Linked DNA regions of Homo sapiens: regions 2, 3, 4 and 5 are each linked to region 1. The links are contacts of gene promoters, found by promoter capture Hi-C in human tissues and cell types (Jung and others, 2019). All regions are on one chromosome and are shown on one strand. Each heading gives the region's core, a stretch centred on a gene start or on the middle of the fragment in contact. The rest is flanking DNA. Distances are from core to core; before and after follow the strand shown. Region 1 holds the start of SIGLEC1 (sialic acid binding Ig like lectin 1). Region 2 overlaps RNF24 (ring finger protein 24). Region 3 overlaps ATRN (attractin). Region 4 holds the start of PANK2 (pantothenate kinase 2). Region 5 overlaps ATRN (attractin).

Region 1 (2,774 bases), core at 133-2,632:
TTCATACTTGGGTCTCCAAGTCTTGGGTGCTCTGAAGACAGGATTTTAAATCCCCACTCCTACTATTGGTATGTGTTGCATCAGGGTGGCTTGAGCTGGCCTGGTACACAGTGGGCACTCACGTTTGCTGCCTGTTTGAGACCAAGTGCCTCAGGAGGTCTTGGAGGGTTGGCTGGGGCCCCAAGTCCCTGACCTCTGATTCCAGAGGCCAAGTTTAGCTGGGGAAGAAAGGGCAGAGGCAGTTTCCCTATGGACAGCTAGGCCCGGGTGTAGGATTCAGTTTCTGTTTCCTGACACCAAGGCTTCTCCCCAACTTCCCCATTGGGCTAGAGAAGGAAGAACACAGGGTGACATGGCCAGCTGGAGGTTACTGGCCCACAGATAGGGAGTCAGGGTACGGATGGGCAATTCCTGGAGCAGATTATGGTCAAAATAGTGGAAATCCCCAATCACAGGCCAAATGTTTAATTCTCAGAGCCATAGAATCCATAACTAATGCTTATTGGCTTTGACATGGGCAGTAGAAATTTCACACTTCATTCCTTAATCTGGCTCTAAATGCTTCTGGCTGGAGTGCTCACTCTCCAAACTGTGCTGGACAGCACCAGAAGCCCTCCTGTGGACGGACGAAGTGGTGATGGATGAAGTGGAATTGTGCTGGGGTTAGAGTAAGGAGAGATTATCGTTGGGCTGGGCTGGGGCTGAGGTCAGGGTGATGATCAGGTTGGAATTCTGGAAGCAAATTAAGGCTGGGATTGGGGTGGACATTGAGGTTGAGTGATGGGTGGGGGTAAGGGTGAAGGTTGGAGTTGGGTGCAGGTGATGGTTAAGATACGGTGGAGGCTGGGTTGAGATGAGGATGATAGAGTCGGAGTTGTGGTTAGGGTTGGGATGATGGATGGTTGGGATTAGATGAGATGAGTAAATGGTTAGGGTTGGGGTGCAAGTGAGGTGAGGGTGAGATAAGGTTGGAATAGGGGCTGGGGCTGGGGCTGAGGTAGGGTCAGAGCAGGGTGATGGTCGGGACTGGGATTGGGATGCAGGTTGGAAGGATTTGGGGGTGGTGGAAGGGTTTCAGTTGAGTCCATCTTTGATTAGTGTCTTGGACTTGGGTTGGTTTGGGGTCCACCACTCGCACCCAGATGGAGCCCCCCCCCGACCCCTGCCCCTATCCCGCTCAGCCAGTTTCAGCCCAGCCCCGCTCCTAATGCTCCACTCACCCTCTGGGCCCAGGGACCAGGGACAGGGGTACCTGCTCCACAGAAGGAAGTGGCTGCGGCGGTGCTGGACCTGCGGAGAGGAGAACAGGAAGGACGGCCAAGAGCTCCTGGTGCAGCTGGCTCCCCAGGGCTCTGCCGGCTCAAGAGAGAAGGATCCCGTATCAGGGGCTGCTTCCTCTTTCCCAAAGCCTCAGCTCTACTGTCCAACCCAGAGGCTGGTCAGGGAGGCAGCTGCAGGCCTTGCGCAATGCCAAAACGGGAAAGACCTCCATAGGGGAAGGCCCTCGGCAAGGCCAGGGACTTAGGGACTCCAGCAAGCAGAAGTGGGACCGCTGCAACGCTGGAGCCTCCCCAGGCAAAGTGAGAAATGGAGTGGGGGACTCCCATTCACCAGCCAAATCCACACCCCACTCTCTCTGAGCCCCTTAGGGAGGCTGGGGGAGGTGGAAGGGGGCTTCCTGCACACAGCTCTCCTCCCTGACACCTGAGAGGGAGGCGCGCCCAGCCTGGGGTGGGGATGCACTACACGATGCCCAGACCAAGGCAGTTATTCTCCAAGCCATTCAGGAGCCTCCCTGTACCACTGAGTACTCTTAAGAACCCCCAAGAGGCAGTCCCGTGTTGTGGGGGACATAAGGCCCCAATGTCCAGGACACTCCTCAGGTTTTCTCTTTCCCCTCTCACTGTCCTGTACGTTTTTTGGTTTTTGGCTTCTTGTTGTTGGTTTTTTTCTTTTTGTTTTGTTTTTGCTTTTGAGATGGAGTCTCACTCTGTCGTCCAGGCTGGAGTGCGGTGGCACAATCTCAGCTCACGGCAACCTCCACCTCCCGAGTTCAAGTGATCATCTTGCCTCAGCCTCTCGAGTAGCTGGGATTACAGGCATGCACCACCACATCCGGCTAATTTTTGTATTTTTGGTAGAGACGGGGTTTCACCATGTTGTCCAGGTTGGTCTTGAACTCCTGACCCCAAGTAATCTGCCTGCCTCGGCCTCCCAAAGTTCTGGGATTACAGAGGTGAGCCGCTGCACCCGGCCACTATCCTATACCTTCACCCCCACCTTGGGACAGGAAAGGAAAGCCCCCACCACAGCTAGTTACTGTTACATTACTGCAGCCCATCTTATTGAGGGCCTAGTTTGTGCAGGCACTTGACATGTGAAGCAGATGTTAATTGCTCCAAGCAATCCCAGATACAAGCAACAAGACTTTTTTTGGTTTTTGTTTGTTTGTTTGTTTTTGTTTTTTGAGACAGTGTCTTGCTCTGTCGCCCAGGCTGGGGTGTCCTGGTGCAATCTTGGCTCACTTTGGCTCACTGCAGCTTCGAAATTCTAGGCTTAAGCAATCCTCCTGCTTCAGCCTCCTAAGAAGCCGGGATTACAGGCGCTTGCCACTATGCACGGCTAATTTTTTAAGTTATTTTGTAGAGACGGAGTCTCCCTATGTTCCCAGGCTGGTCTCAAACACCTGGGCTCAAGTGACTCTCCCACCTCGACCTCCCAAAGTGCTGGAACTACAGGCGTAAGCCACCACTCCTGGCCATTTTTTTTTTTAA
Region 2 (2,774 bases), core at 192-2,691, 250 kb after region 1:
ATCTTGGCTCACTGCAATCTCTCCCTCCCGGGTTCAAGGGATTCTCCTGCCAAGTAGCTGGGATTACAGGTGCCCACCACCACACCTCGCTAATTTTTGTATTTTTAGTAGAGACTGGGTTTCACCATGTTGGCCAGGCTGGTCTCGAACTCCCGACCTCAGGTAATCCGCCCACCTCAGCCTCCCAGTGTTGGGATTTTGGACGTCAGCCACTGCACCTGGCTGATCTAATTATTTTAATAATAGTTTAATAGAAATGTCAGAAAAAGGAATTTCTGGAAATAAACAGGTTTTATAAAGGTTTTTTCTGTAGATTACAATTATATTTGTCTCAAGTATTTAATTAATTTGGAGGAAGAAATAAAAGTCATAAGCAGTCAACATATCTATGAGATATAAGGAGCATCCCCTATGTTTCTTTATTATTTTATTTTTTGAGACAGAGTCTCGCTCTGTTGCCTAGGCTGGAGTGCAATGGCACGATCTTGGCTCACTGCAACCTCCACCTCCTGGGTTCCAGTGATTTTCCTGCTTCAGCCTCCCAGGTAGCTGGGATTACAGGCATGAGCCACCACGCCCAGCTAATTTTTGTATTTTTGGTAGAGACGGAGTTCCACCATGTTGGCCAGGCTGGTCGAGAACTCCCGACCTTAGGTGATCCACTCGCCTGGGCCTCCCAAAGTGCTGGGATTACAGGCATGAGCCACTGCGCCCAGCCTTCCCTACTTTTCTGATACCTAATGACCTTAGCTAACAAGGAAGCCACACCTTGAAAAGCAATTTTGAAATCTCTGTGAGAGTAGATTAAATCTTGGAGATAGACAATGACATACGTGTATCTGTTTACCAGGTAGAAGGGCAGAAAAATAAATAAGGACAATTTTCTCCTACAGAGTAAAACACTTCATCAGTAGATAAGATTGAAGATCATATAAAGGTGTTTTACTGATTACTAATGCACAGATTAAAACGGTAAGCCATCTTAATTTTTTAAAAATTTGCCAATTATCATACTTCATTTTAAAAAAAATCTGAGGACAGAAACTTGATTATTGATTATTTAACATATTTTGAAGTAACATAGAATGAAAATTGGTTACCTAATCAAGTAGCAACAGAAGAGTAAACTAAGGATGAAGACAAATATAGCAGTACCAAAAACCACAATATATATGTTGAGAGGCAGATTCTGGAATCCAATATTAGGCATCCTGAAGTTGTAATGTGGGAAATCCGAGCTCATGGATGAACTGTGGGGGAAGAAAAGAATGGAAAAAAAATAGGTAAAGACTAAGAACCAAGACAGCATTATCATTGTGCACGTATAGAGGCACAATGACCTCATCTGAAACAAATATGGTAGACAAAGTGTTAATATTCTTGCCATTCATTCATTCATTCACCATGCCAAATATTTACTGAGTATTATGTACCTGGCACTATTTCAGAGACTGGAGATCCAATATAAAAAGCTTTGCAAGTTGCATTTATTCACTAAAAGGCATTTCACTAAAATAATGCCAGTAATTAATAAACATGAAAATGTTCAACCTCAGAGAAGTGCAAAAAGAAAAAAAGTTTTAAGATTCTTCAAACTCTTTAGCCTTTAACCTAATAACTCAACCCTTGAAGTAACAATATTTATAATGGTAAAATATTAGAAATAACTGAGATATCTCACAAGGAAATATGATTAATTATATAGTCATATGTTATAGTATTAAAGGGTCATGAAAACATTTTCAAGTAATTTTTTTTTTCTTTTGAGACAGGGTCTCATTCTGTCACCCCAGGCTGGAGTGCAATGGTGTGATCTCAGCTCTCTGCAGTCTTAATCTCCCGGGCTCAAGCAATTCTTCCACTTCAGCCTCCCAAATAGCTAGGACTACAGGCGCGTGCCACCACACCTAGCTAATTTTTAAAAATTTTTTTGTAGAGATAGCATGTTGCCTAGGCTGGTCTTGAACTCGTGGGCTCAAGCAATCATCCCTACTTGGCCTCCCAAAGTGCTGGTATTATAGGCATGAGCCACTGTGCCCGGCCAATTTCTCCCCATTCTATACACAAGGAAACTGAAGCTTAGACAGTTCTGGTCCCATGGCCATGACTGACCCGGTATGTACACAGCCAGAGCCTCTCCAACTCCAAACTCAGCAGTCTCAGTCCATATGCTCCACTGCCTTGCTCATGTGTTACTTTTATAATCAGAAACAGTAAGTGTTGTTTAAACATTAAAAAAAAGGACTATTTCTGTCAGTTTGTTTGAGAATACTTACTGATTACTACAGTTAAAATTCCACAGATAAAGGATGCCTCTCCTGTAAGTGATAAGCTGTAGTTTGTCATTTTGATTCCTTACAAAATAAAGAGTTCCTGCCAGGCCTGCTTATTAAGACCAAAGATTGACAATGGAATTATAACTATGAATACTACAAATCCAAACCCAAACAAAACTCTACCAAGCAAAGAAAACTTCTACTTTTATTTATGCATGGTAAATTAAAAATGTGTTCACAGATTTTTAGTTTTCTTGTAGGTTCCCAGAAGAGTATATTTATACTGTTGACACCACTGAGATGCTAACTGGCTGTATCTGAAATCTAAATCTTATGATTAGTTTCCAGTCTCTAGTAACATATATCAGGAAGTCAGTACCTGCAAAGAACAACTTCATCCCATGTAAATTCTTCTCTGACAGCTTCCAAACATAAATAATGGGTAATATTTAATTTTGAACCTTTGGCCATTTTCTGGGTTGGCTCAGTTAGAGCAAG
Region 3 (2,774 bases), core at 85-2,584, 200 kb before region 1:
CCGTCTCAAAAAAAAAAAAAAAATTGGAGTCAAAAAATGGCAAAAACTGCAATTACTTTTGCACATACCGAAAAGAGTTTGAATGATGTGGGACACAGTTGTAATTAGAACTCCAAAAGGAGAAAAAAAGAGTGGAGCAGAAGCAATACTTAATGAGATAATGTCCTAGAATGTTCACAAAGTGATAAGATGCTTAAAGCTGCCAATTCAGGAAATGCAACAAACACCAAACAGGATGAGGAAGGAAAAGCATACTCAGCATTTTTGCTAACAACCAAAGACAAAGTTAAAAATATTTTTTTTTTTTTTTTTTTTTTTGAGACAGAGTCTTGCTCTGTTGCCAGGCTGGATCTCGGCTCACTGCAACCTCCACCTCCCAGGTTCAAGCAATTCTCCTGCCTCAGCTTCCTGAATAGCTGGGACTACAGGCGCGCCACCACGCTCAGCTAATTTTTGTATTTTTAGTGAAATACGAAAATTAGTTTTAGCGAAACGGGGTTTCACCATGTTGGCCAGGATGGTCTCGATCTCTTGACCTCGTGATCCACCCGTCTCGGCCTCCCAAAGTGCTAGGATTACAGACATGAGCCACCGCGCCTGGTGAAAGTTAAAAATCTTAAAGCAACCAGTGGATTGAGACACATTATCTTTACACAAGCAAGAAAAAGGCTGGGCGTGATGGCTCATACCTGTAATCCCAGTACTTTGGGAGGCTGAGGCGGGATGATTCCTTGAGCCCAGGAGTTTTGAGACCAGCCTGGTAACATAGTGAGACCTTGTCTCAGTTTTAAAAATTTATTTTCTTATTAAAAAAAAAAAAGCAAGGACAAGACTGAAAACTACCTTCTTATTATAAACAATGGAAACCCAAACAATGGAATGACAGTTTTAAAGTGCAGAAAAGAAAATAAATGCCAGCATAGAATTGTATACCAAGAGTTGACAAACTTTCTTTTTAAAGGGCCAGGTAGTATATATCTTAGACTCCTGGGCCATGTAAGATCTCTGCCACAGCTATTCTGCATTGTTGCATGAAAGCAGTCATAAACAATCATAAGCGAATGGGCATGGCTGTGTTCCAATAAAACCTTACTTACAGAAACAGGCTACTAGTCCACGGGCTGTAGTTCCCTACCCTTCTATATCCAGTAGAAAATATACTTCAAAAATGAAGAACTAAAGATATTTTCAGATGAACAAATACAGAGGGGATTAATCACCGGCAGCCTTACAGTAAAGGGAGTTCCGTAAGCAGAGGAGAATGACTGCAGAAGGAAATACAGAGATTCTAAGAGGAATGAGGAGCAGTGGAAAGAATAAAGTGTGGGTAAACTTAACTGAATGTTAATTGTATGCAATAATAATGTCCTCTGGGATTTAGAATATAGAATTGAAATATACACCAACAAAGCACAAGCAGCTGGTATAGGTGGATGGAAGAAGTGAAGCTTAAGGTCCTTGAATTGCCCAGGAAATGGTATAAGTACTAATTTATATTAGGCCTTGATAAATCAGGGATGCAAGTTATAATTTCTAGGGTAATCACTAATAGTAGTAAAAGTAAAGGTAATAGCAAAATAAAAGTAAATAGTAAAAGGATGCATAACATAATAGTTTATAAAGAAAAAAATGGAATAATAAGAATATTTAATCCAAAAAAAGGTAAAACAAGATAGGAAAAGGAACATAGAGTAAGTAGGCAGATAGAAAACAAATAGCGAGACAGTAGATTTAATGCCAGTTATGTCAGCACTGGAATGAAAACTGACTCAAGATACCAGTTCAATGACAGATTTGTCTAAGTGGGTTTAGGAAAACCAATGAACTATGATACAAAACTGTACTTAACTGTAATGAGTCAAATATTGAAAGCAAAAGGATAGAGAAAAAGGTATATCACACTCTTAACCCACAGACAGCTGGTTTATGTCTATATCTGACAAAATAGACTTAAGAAGGATTGCTAGAGGCAAAATAGTAACGTTTCATAATGATGAAAGCACAGTCTACCAGAAAAAATGATTCTAAATGTGTGTGTACCTAATAATGTAACCTTATGTTATATAAAGTGAAAGATGTCAGAGGTACATGTTAACAATTTTTTTTTTTTTTTTGGAGACAGGAGTCTTGCTCTGTCGCCCAGGCTGGAGTGCAGTGGTGTGATCTCGGCTCACTGCAACCTCCAGCCCCTAGGTTCAAGTGATTCGTCTGCCTCAGCCTCAGCCTCCCGAGTAGCTGGGACCACAGGTGTGCACCACCATGCCCGGCTAATTTTTGTATTTTTAGTAGAGGTGGGGTTTTGCCACGTTGGCCAGGCTGGTCTTGACCTCCTGACCTCAAGCTATCCACCTGCCTTGGCCTCCCAAAGTGCTGAGATTACAGGTGTGAGCCACCACGCCCAGCCACAAATTTTTTATTTGTAAATAATTTTAAGCTCACAGAAAAGTGCAAGAATAAAAACAGTGCAAAGCACAACTTTGTATTCTACCCAAATTCATTGTTAACATCTCACTACATTTGCTTTATCATTCCTCACCCCTCCCTCCACATAAGCACACATACACAGATATGTGTGTGTATACATAATTTTTCCCTCTGAACCTTTCAAGGGTAAACTATATATATCGTGGCTCTTGACCCAAAATACTTTAGTATGTATTTTCTGAGAATAGTGATAGTCTTAAGAGTCTTAAGGTACAGTTTTTACCTTCAATATATTTGACATTGTACAATGCTTTAATCTACTGTTTGTGTTTCATTCTGTCAGTTGACCT
Region 4 (2,774 bases), core at 154-2,653, 180 kb after region 1:
TTTGGTTCTTGTAGATCCGTCTGTGTTGGCTTCCTACAGGAGCTAGAATTTTCAGAGCTAGTCCTACAGTGAGGGGAGCTAACGTGGAGTGGGCGTGAGAATTCTATTCAGCAAGCACAAGCGAAGCTCAACCTTTTTGTTCAGCCTGCTACAACCAATCATTATGGGAGAGGGGAATAAGGATCACTGCCCAAGGGGCATTAGGATCACTGCCCAGTGGGCATTACAGTCTCCCCAGGGAGGCACTCTTTTTTATTTTTTATTTTTTTTGAGACGGAGTTTCGCTCTTGTTGCACAATGTTGGGTCACTGCAGCCTCCGCCACCCGGGTTCAAGCAATTTTCCTGCCTCAGCTTCCCAAGTAGCTGGGATTATAGGCATGGGCCACCACGCCCCGCTAATACGGAGGCACTTTTAATTAGCCCACAGTCCAGTGAAATTTGACGGAGTGAGGAAGTGACCTCAGAGTACAGAACGGGATGGGATCCTTCCGGGCTTGGGCAGCCTTTGGTAGTGGGGATGCTTGGAAGGGTCAGGGTCTCAGTCCTGGAGGTGACCAATTTTTCTCTCCAAAAGAGAAAGGAAGATGATTAAAAAAAAAATCCATGCTCCAAAGCGGCAGCCAAATCCTTCTATGGCCCCCAATGCATCACCCAGAAAGGGGCTCCAGACTCTCCTGCAAAAGGCCAACTCTACTTCCCGGCTCCCACTTCCCCTCCTTCGCCACAGGAGGGTGGCGAAGGATTTATAACCCACCTCTTTCTTTCAGTTGCCATGGAGACAAGCCCCAGTCCTTTCATTCCTTCTGGTACCTCTCTCTCCAACGCAGGCGGAAAGGAGGCGGCTTAGCCCAAACATGCTGGGGGAGGGGCTGGCGGCCTCGACGGCAGCTGCGGAACTAGGCCGAGGGACAAAGGCTAAGGTCAGCCGCGGTTCAAGCCCTTTCGTCTGCCGACGACCAGCGGCCAGACGCTGCGGGAGCACTGCTGGGCTGGAGGAGGGCTCGAGCTGCGAGGACGGCACGGAGCAGCGGGGTGGGACTCGGGGTCGCCCCAGGAGAGTTCCGCGGCCCGGGGGGGCAGAGGCATGCACAAGTGGGGGGCGGAAGGAGGGGGTGGATGAGGAGGCTCGGGCCCTTCCACCCACGCGTCCATTGGGCGGCGCCGCCATCACTCTCTTCTGGGCTACACCGCCTTCTCTTCCTCCGCGGAACCCGGATCCCCTCCTCCACCACCCTCTCCCCGCCCCGTCACGATAGCCTCTCATTGGACGGAGGCACGGTCAATCCTCCTCGAGTTAGGGAGCCGACTGGACGCGAGGCCTTTGGGCCGTCCCCAGCCTCGTCGGATTGGCTTCCTGCGCGTTGGCGCAACGGAAGAGGCGGCCGGCCGAGGGCGCGCCTCTGCTCTGGCTGGACTGCCGCGGAGGAGGCGAGAAGGAATCCGACGCTGGGGGGCTTGCTCGGGCGGCAGCGACTGCTGCTGCGGATGGGAGGGGGCCGGCTCGGCGCGCCCATGGAGCGCCACGGCAGGGCTTCCGCCACCTCCGTCTCGTCGGCTGGGGAGCAGGCGGCCGGGGACCCCGAAGGGCGGCGGCAGGAGCCACTGCGGCGCCGGGCGAGCAGCGCGTCGGTGCCCGCGGTCGGGGCCTCGGCTGAGGGCACGAGGCGGGATCGACTGGGCTCTTACAGCGGCCCCACCTCGGTCTCCCGCCAGCGCGTCGAAAGCCTGAGGAAAAAGCGGCCGCGTAAGTGTTCCGTGGGGCGCCCTCCCGGCCCGCCCTGCCCCCCCTTCCGGCCCACCCTGTCCCCTTCCGGCCCCGCCGCCGTTTTTCCCGCGCGCGGACACTGTCCCCGCACGGTGGTCCCTCGTTGGTGCGTGGCCTGACATCCGGCTGGAGGCCTCGGGTGCTCCGAAAGCGGTACCTTCGGGGGCCCCCCCGCACCCATTGGTATGCACTTCCCGCTTGTTGGAGTGGAGGGCTTTTCCCCAGGACCTGTCCTCCCTTTTCTTAGCTCCTTGGGCATTCTCTTCCTGAGGGTCACATGATTTTATCCTCGAGAAGGCTTCTTTTGACTCATTTCCACCTCCTTTCCTCCCAAATCCTTTGAATCCCCAATGTTTGTTTTCCGTGGGTTTCCAAAGAGCTGCTCTCTAATACTTTAAGTCCCTTTTATTCGTCAATTTCGGGCTTACTGGAAAATGGTGAACTGCCCCTTGAGTTGCACCAGGCCTGAAACTGTATTCCGTGCACCTCTAAGGTGGCTGCCCTTCTTCTCGTGAGAATCCAGGTCATCTCTCACCCACATATCCCCTCCGTTTTCCTTCTGTCTATTTGCAGGTACTCACGATTCAGAACTGTGGCATTCTGGGCATTAAGGCTCTTTGTTTTGAGGGGAAACAACATCTTTCTGAATTTTGCCTTGGGAGTTGCATACGCTCCTCCCAGAGAATCCGTTTCCCCATTTTATTAGGTTTCTTTTTCTGTGTTGTGTATTTTCTCCCCTTTACAAGTCTTCAATTCAGGACCGCTGCCTGGCAGCCATTGCTGCTGTTGAAAGTATCAATTGTCCTGATACTGTAATATGAGCTTTACAGTGTGATGCCATTTTACATATGGTTGGACTTTTTGGTGGGTGTTGCCAGATTCCTATTTCAGGAAATTGACTTGTTTAAATGCAGATTGTGAGAGGGAGGGAAAATGGCAAGATGTGAGATTTTTATTGAATAGTCTTCTACCTTAGCCCAGTCACCCAACTGCTTTTTTGAATCTTCT
Region 5 (2,774 bases), core at 104-2,603, 130 kb before region 1:
TCTAGATGTAGCCCAGTTAGTAGAGCCCAGATTTTTATGGAAAAACAAGAAAGGACACCTAGCCTAACCCTTAGGACAGAGGCTGGCTGGTAGAAAGCTGGAAGGAGGTGACCCCTGCAGGTGAGAAGGAGTGAATTAGGATGTCGAAGACGGAAGGGCTTTCTGTGATTTAATTAGTGCCCCCATCTGTGAGATGTAGAGGGAGATGATTAAGGGAGTGGCTCTTTGAGTGAGCTGCAGGTAAGTTTGCATGGTTGGCTGCAGGCTGGATGGGAGGGGATTTTTATAGTTGAGCCTCAGGAAGGAACCAAGGCCAGACCCTGCGAGGCCATGGCTACAATAGTAATGGATTTGAATTGTATCGTGAAGGCAAAGAAATTATTGAAGGGCCTTTAAAAAGTATTTTTAATTGTCTTTCTTTCTTTTGGATCTGTTTATTTTTAGGTCTTTTAGTAGGCATGTGTATTTTTTCCTCTCAAAAATGGAAATAGGCTGGGTGTGGTGGCTCCTGCCTGTAATCCCAGCATTTTGGGAGGCCAGTGAGGGAGGATTGCTTGAGCCCAGGAGTTCAAGACTAGCCTGGGCAACACAGGGAGACCTCGTCTCTACAAAGGAAGTTTTTTTAAAGAATTAGCCGGGCATGATGGTGGCACATACTTGTAGTTCCGGCTACTTGGGAGGCTGAGGCAAGAGGGTTGCTTGAGCCCAGGGGTTTGAGGCTGTAGTGAGCCATGATCATGTCCCTGCACTCCAGCATGGGCAACAGAGCGAGACCCTGTCTCAAAAGAAAGCAAAGGGAGGGAAATACAGTATATCTTTTGTTTTATAACTACCAAAATTAGGAATACTTACCATTTCTTGGCTAAACTTTATATTTTGATTTTTAAAACTTGTTAAAAATTGCAATGAGAAGGAAATTTCAGGAGAGCAGAAGACAGACTGTCCCAGGTGTCACTGTCCTATTATTCCCTATAAAATCCAGTGCCAGGATGGATGAATGGATAAAGCAAATGTGGTATAAGTTGAATATCCCTTATCTAAAATGCTTTGGACGAGGAGTGTTTCGAATTTTAGAATATTTGCATTATACTAACCAGTTAAGCATCCCTAATCTGGAAATCCAAAATGCTCTAGTGAACATTTTCCTTCAGCATCCATCATGTTGGCACTCAAAAAGTTTTAGATTTTGGAGTGTTTTGGATTTCAGATTAGGGATACTCAGCCTGTGTTTGGGGGTAGCCATCTCTTCATATAGACATTTCAGAACTTAAATATTGCTTTGCTATAATTTCTGTGAATTTTTGATATATTATCTTCTCTGAGCTACATTTTTATCCTTTATAAAATGGCCATATTGAAGTGATGATCTATCCTAATCTACCATGGCTGAGTCAAGGGATAAAGAGGTTTTCCTATGTCTGTGGGGTATACTTAACTTGGTGGTTTTTATCTAGAAGCTTGTTTTGGTCAAGATGTTGGTTATATTCAGGCCAGGCATGGTGGCTCATGCCTATAATCTCAACATTTTGGGAGGCCAAGGTGGGAGGATCACTTGAGCTCAGGAGTTTGAAACTAGCCAGGGCAACATGGCAAGACTCCATCTCCAAAATTTAAATTAAAAAAAGATACTATCTGTATTCATAGTTGTGTCTCTTTTGCCTTTAGTCCAAGCTCACCTTAACCCCATGGGTCGGCCTTCGGAAGATCAATGTGTCCTACTGGTGCTGGGAAGATATGTCCCCATTTACAAATAGTTTACTACAGTGGATGCCGTCTGAGCCCAGTGATGCTGGATTCTGTGGAATTTTATCAGAACCCAGTACTCGGGGACTGAAGGCTGCAACCTGCATCAACCCACTCAATGGTAGTGTCTGTGAAAGGCCTGGTAAGTTCACAGGTGAATTAGGTGGTATTCAGAGTTTATTGTGAGAGAAACCATAGGAGGCATAGTTCATTGCTGAGATGTGTGAAGTAGTCATGAAAACAGATGAAGTATTGATTTCAAGCATGCAAAGAAGAGTATAACCCAGATTTCAGAAGCAGAAGGAAATATTCTGGGACCCTGAATAGTTTTAATTATAAGCAAAACTAAAAATAACTAACACTACTCGAAGAAACTGATATTCTAATTAACAATGAGATTGATAGGTTTATTGACCAGAAAAAGTATTGAGAATTGCTCTGAAAAGCAAATTTATTGGTGTTGGCAGAGAAATGCTGTGGAAGAAGAAACAAAAAAGGAAAATAAAAACAAAGAAAAGATTAGTAAAGCAAGCAAGTGACTGCAGGGACAGTGTTCAGAAAGGTAGTGTCAACAGGGAGAAAAATGATGAGAGCAGTTCTGTAAGCGAGGACAGAAGCAACCCAGAACTACGCGAGAGCTGCAGGAGAGTACTGAGCAGACAGACACTCGGAGTAGCTTCCCAGCTTTCAGTCTCTCTGGGCTACATTTTGGCTAACTAAAGGCAGGCCCAGGGGTAGCTGCTGCAGCATGAAGACAACTCAAAATAAGCCTCCTCCTCCTGCAGAGGGACTCACAAGCAGTCGGTGGAATTGTGGATTATTTTGGGAGGCTGGACTCCATTTGCATTGTGTCCAATTTTGGGAAAGTAATTTGTCTGAGGAATTACAGAGGTATAGGAGAGAATTCATAGCATTGTAGATTTCTAAATATTGATTTCTAAACTTCTCTAGGGGAGCTGCCCAGCAGCCTTTCAGAATTCTGAATCCTTTGTTGAACTTAATGAATGCCGTAGACCTTCTTCCCTCCAAAA

What was found. Contacts are between HindIII fragments. The study calls those that stand out against the background at their distance.
Region 2: a contact is called between a fragment that was not itself captured here and the fragment with the promoter of SIGLEC1 in region 1, in 1 of the 25 tissues and cell types used here (spleen).
Region 3: a fragment that was not itself captured here is called in contact with the fragment with the promoter of SIGLEC1 in region 1 in 4 of the 25 tissues and cell types used here (IMR-90 fibroblasts, aorta, mesenchymal stem cells and 1 more).
Region 4: a contact is called between the fragment with the promoter of PANK2 here and the fragment with the promoter of SIGLEC1 in region 1, in 3 of the 25 tissues and cell types used here (IMR-90 fibroblasts, lymphoblastoid cells and stomach).
Region 5: a fragment that was not itself captured here is called in contact with the fragment with the promoter of SIGLEC1 in region 1 in 5 of the 25 tissues and cell types used here (IMR-90 fibroblasts, adrenal gland, dorsolateral prefrontal cortex and 2 more).

The regions. Positions count from the first base shown.
Region 1 is chr20:3,711,218-3,713,991 of GRCh38, forward strand. It overlaps SIGLEC1 (sialic acid binding Ig like lectin 1), which reads right to left and starts at 1,383. Exons shown (of 22, transcript NM_023068.4): 1 at 1,253-1,383. The HindIII fragment of the contact is 16,568 bases long and covers 1-2,774 here.
Region 2 is chr20:3,962,775-3,965,548 of GRCh38, forward strand. RNF24 (ring finger protein 24) reads right to left here. Exons shown (of 6, transcript NM_001134337.3): 2 at 1,101-1,250. The coding sequence starts at 1,243. Among named protein-coding and RNA genes, the nearest start is that of MIR103B2, 47 kb to the left of the region's middle. The HindIII fragment of the contact is 5,048 bases long and covers 1-2,774 here.
Region 3 is chr20:3,507,400-3,510,173 of GRCh38, forward strand. The region is part of intron 1 of ATRN (attractin); the gene reads left to right. Among named protein-coding and RNA genes, the nearest start is that of ATRN, 38 kb to the left of the region's middle. The HindIII fragment of the contact is 5,646 bases long and covers 1-2,774 here.
Region 4 is chr20:3,887,984-3,890,757 of GRCh38, forward strand. PANK2 (pantothenate kinase 2) reads left to right here and starts at 1,404. Exons shown (of 7, transcript NM_001386393.1): 1 at 1,404-1,745. The coding sequence starts at 1,448. It overlaps PANK2-AS1 (PANK2 antisense RNA 1), which reads right to left and starts at 1,190. Exons shown (of 2, transcript XR_001754478.3): 1 at 756-1,190; 2 at 1-566. RefSeq lists an enhancer at 479-1,030 and silencers at 1,039-1,098, 1,289-1,788. The HindIII fragment of the contact is 29,664 bases long and covers 1-2,774 here.
Region 5 is chr20:3,580,470-3,583,243 of GRCh38, forward strand. ATRN (attractin) reads left to right here. Exons shown (of 29, transcript NM_139321.3): 16 at 1,666-1,885. Among named protein-coding and RNA genes, the nearest start is that of GFRA4, 82 kb to the right of the region's middle. The HindIII fragment of the contact is 8,776 bases long and covers 1-2,774 here.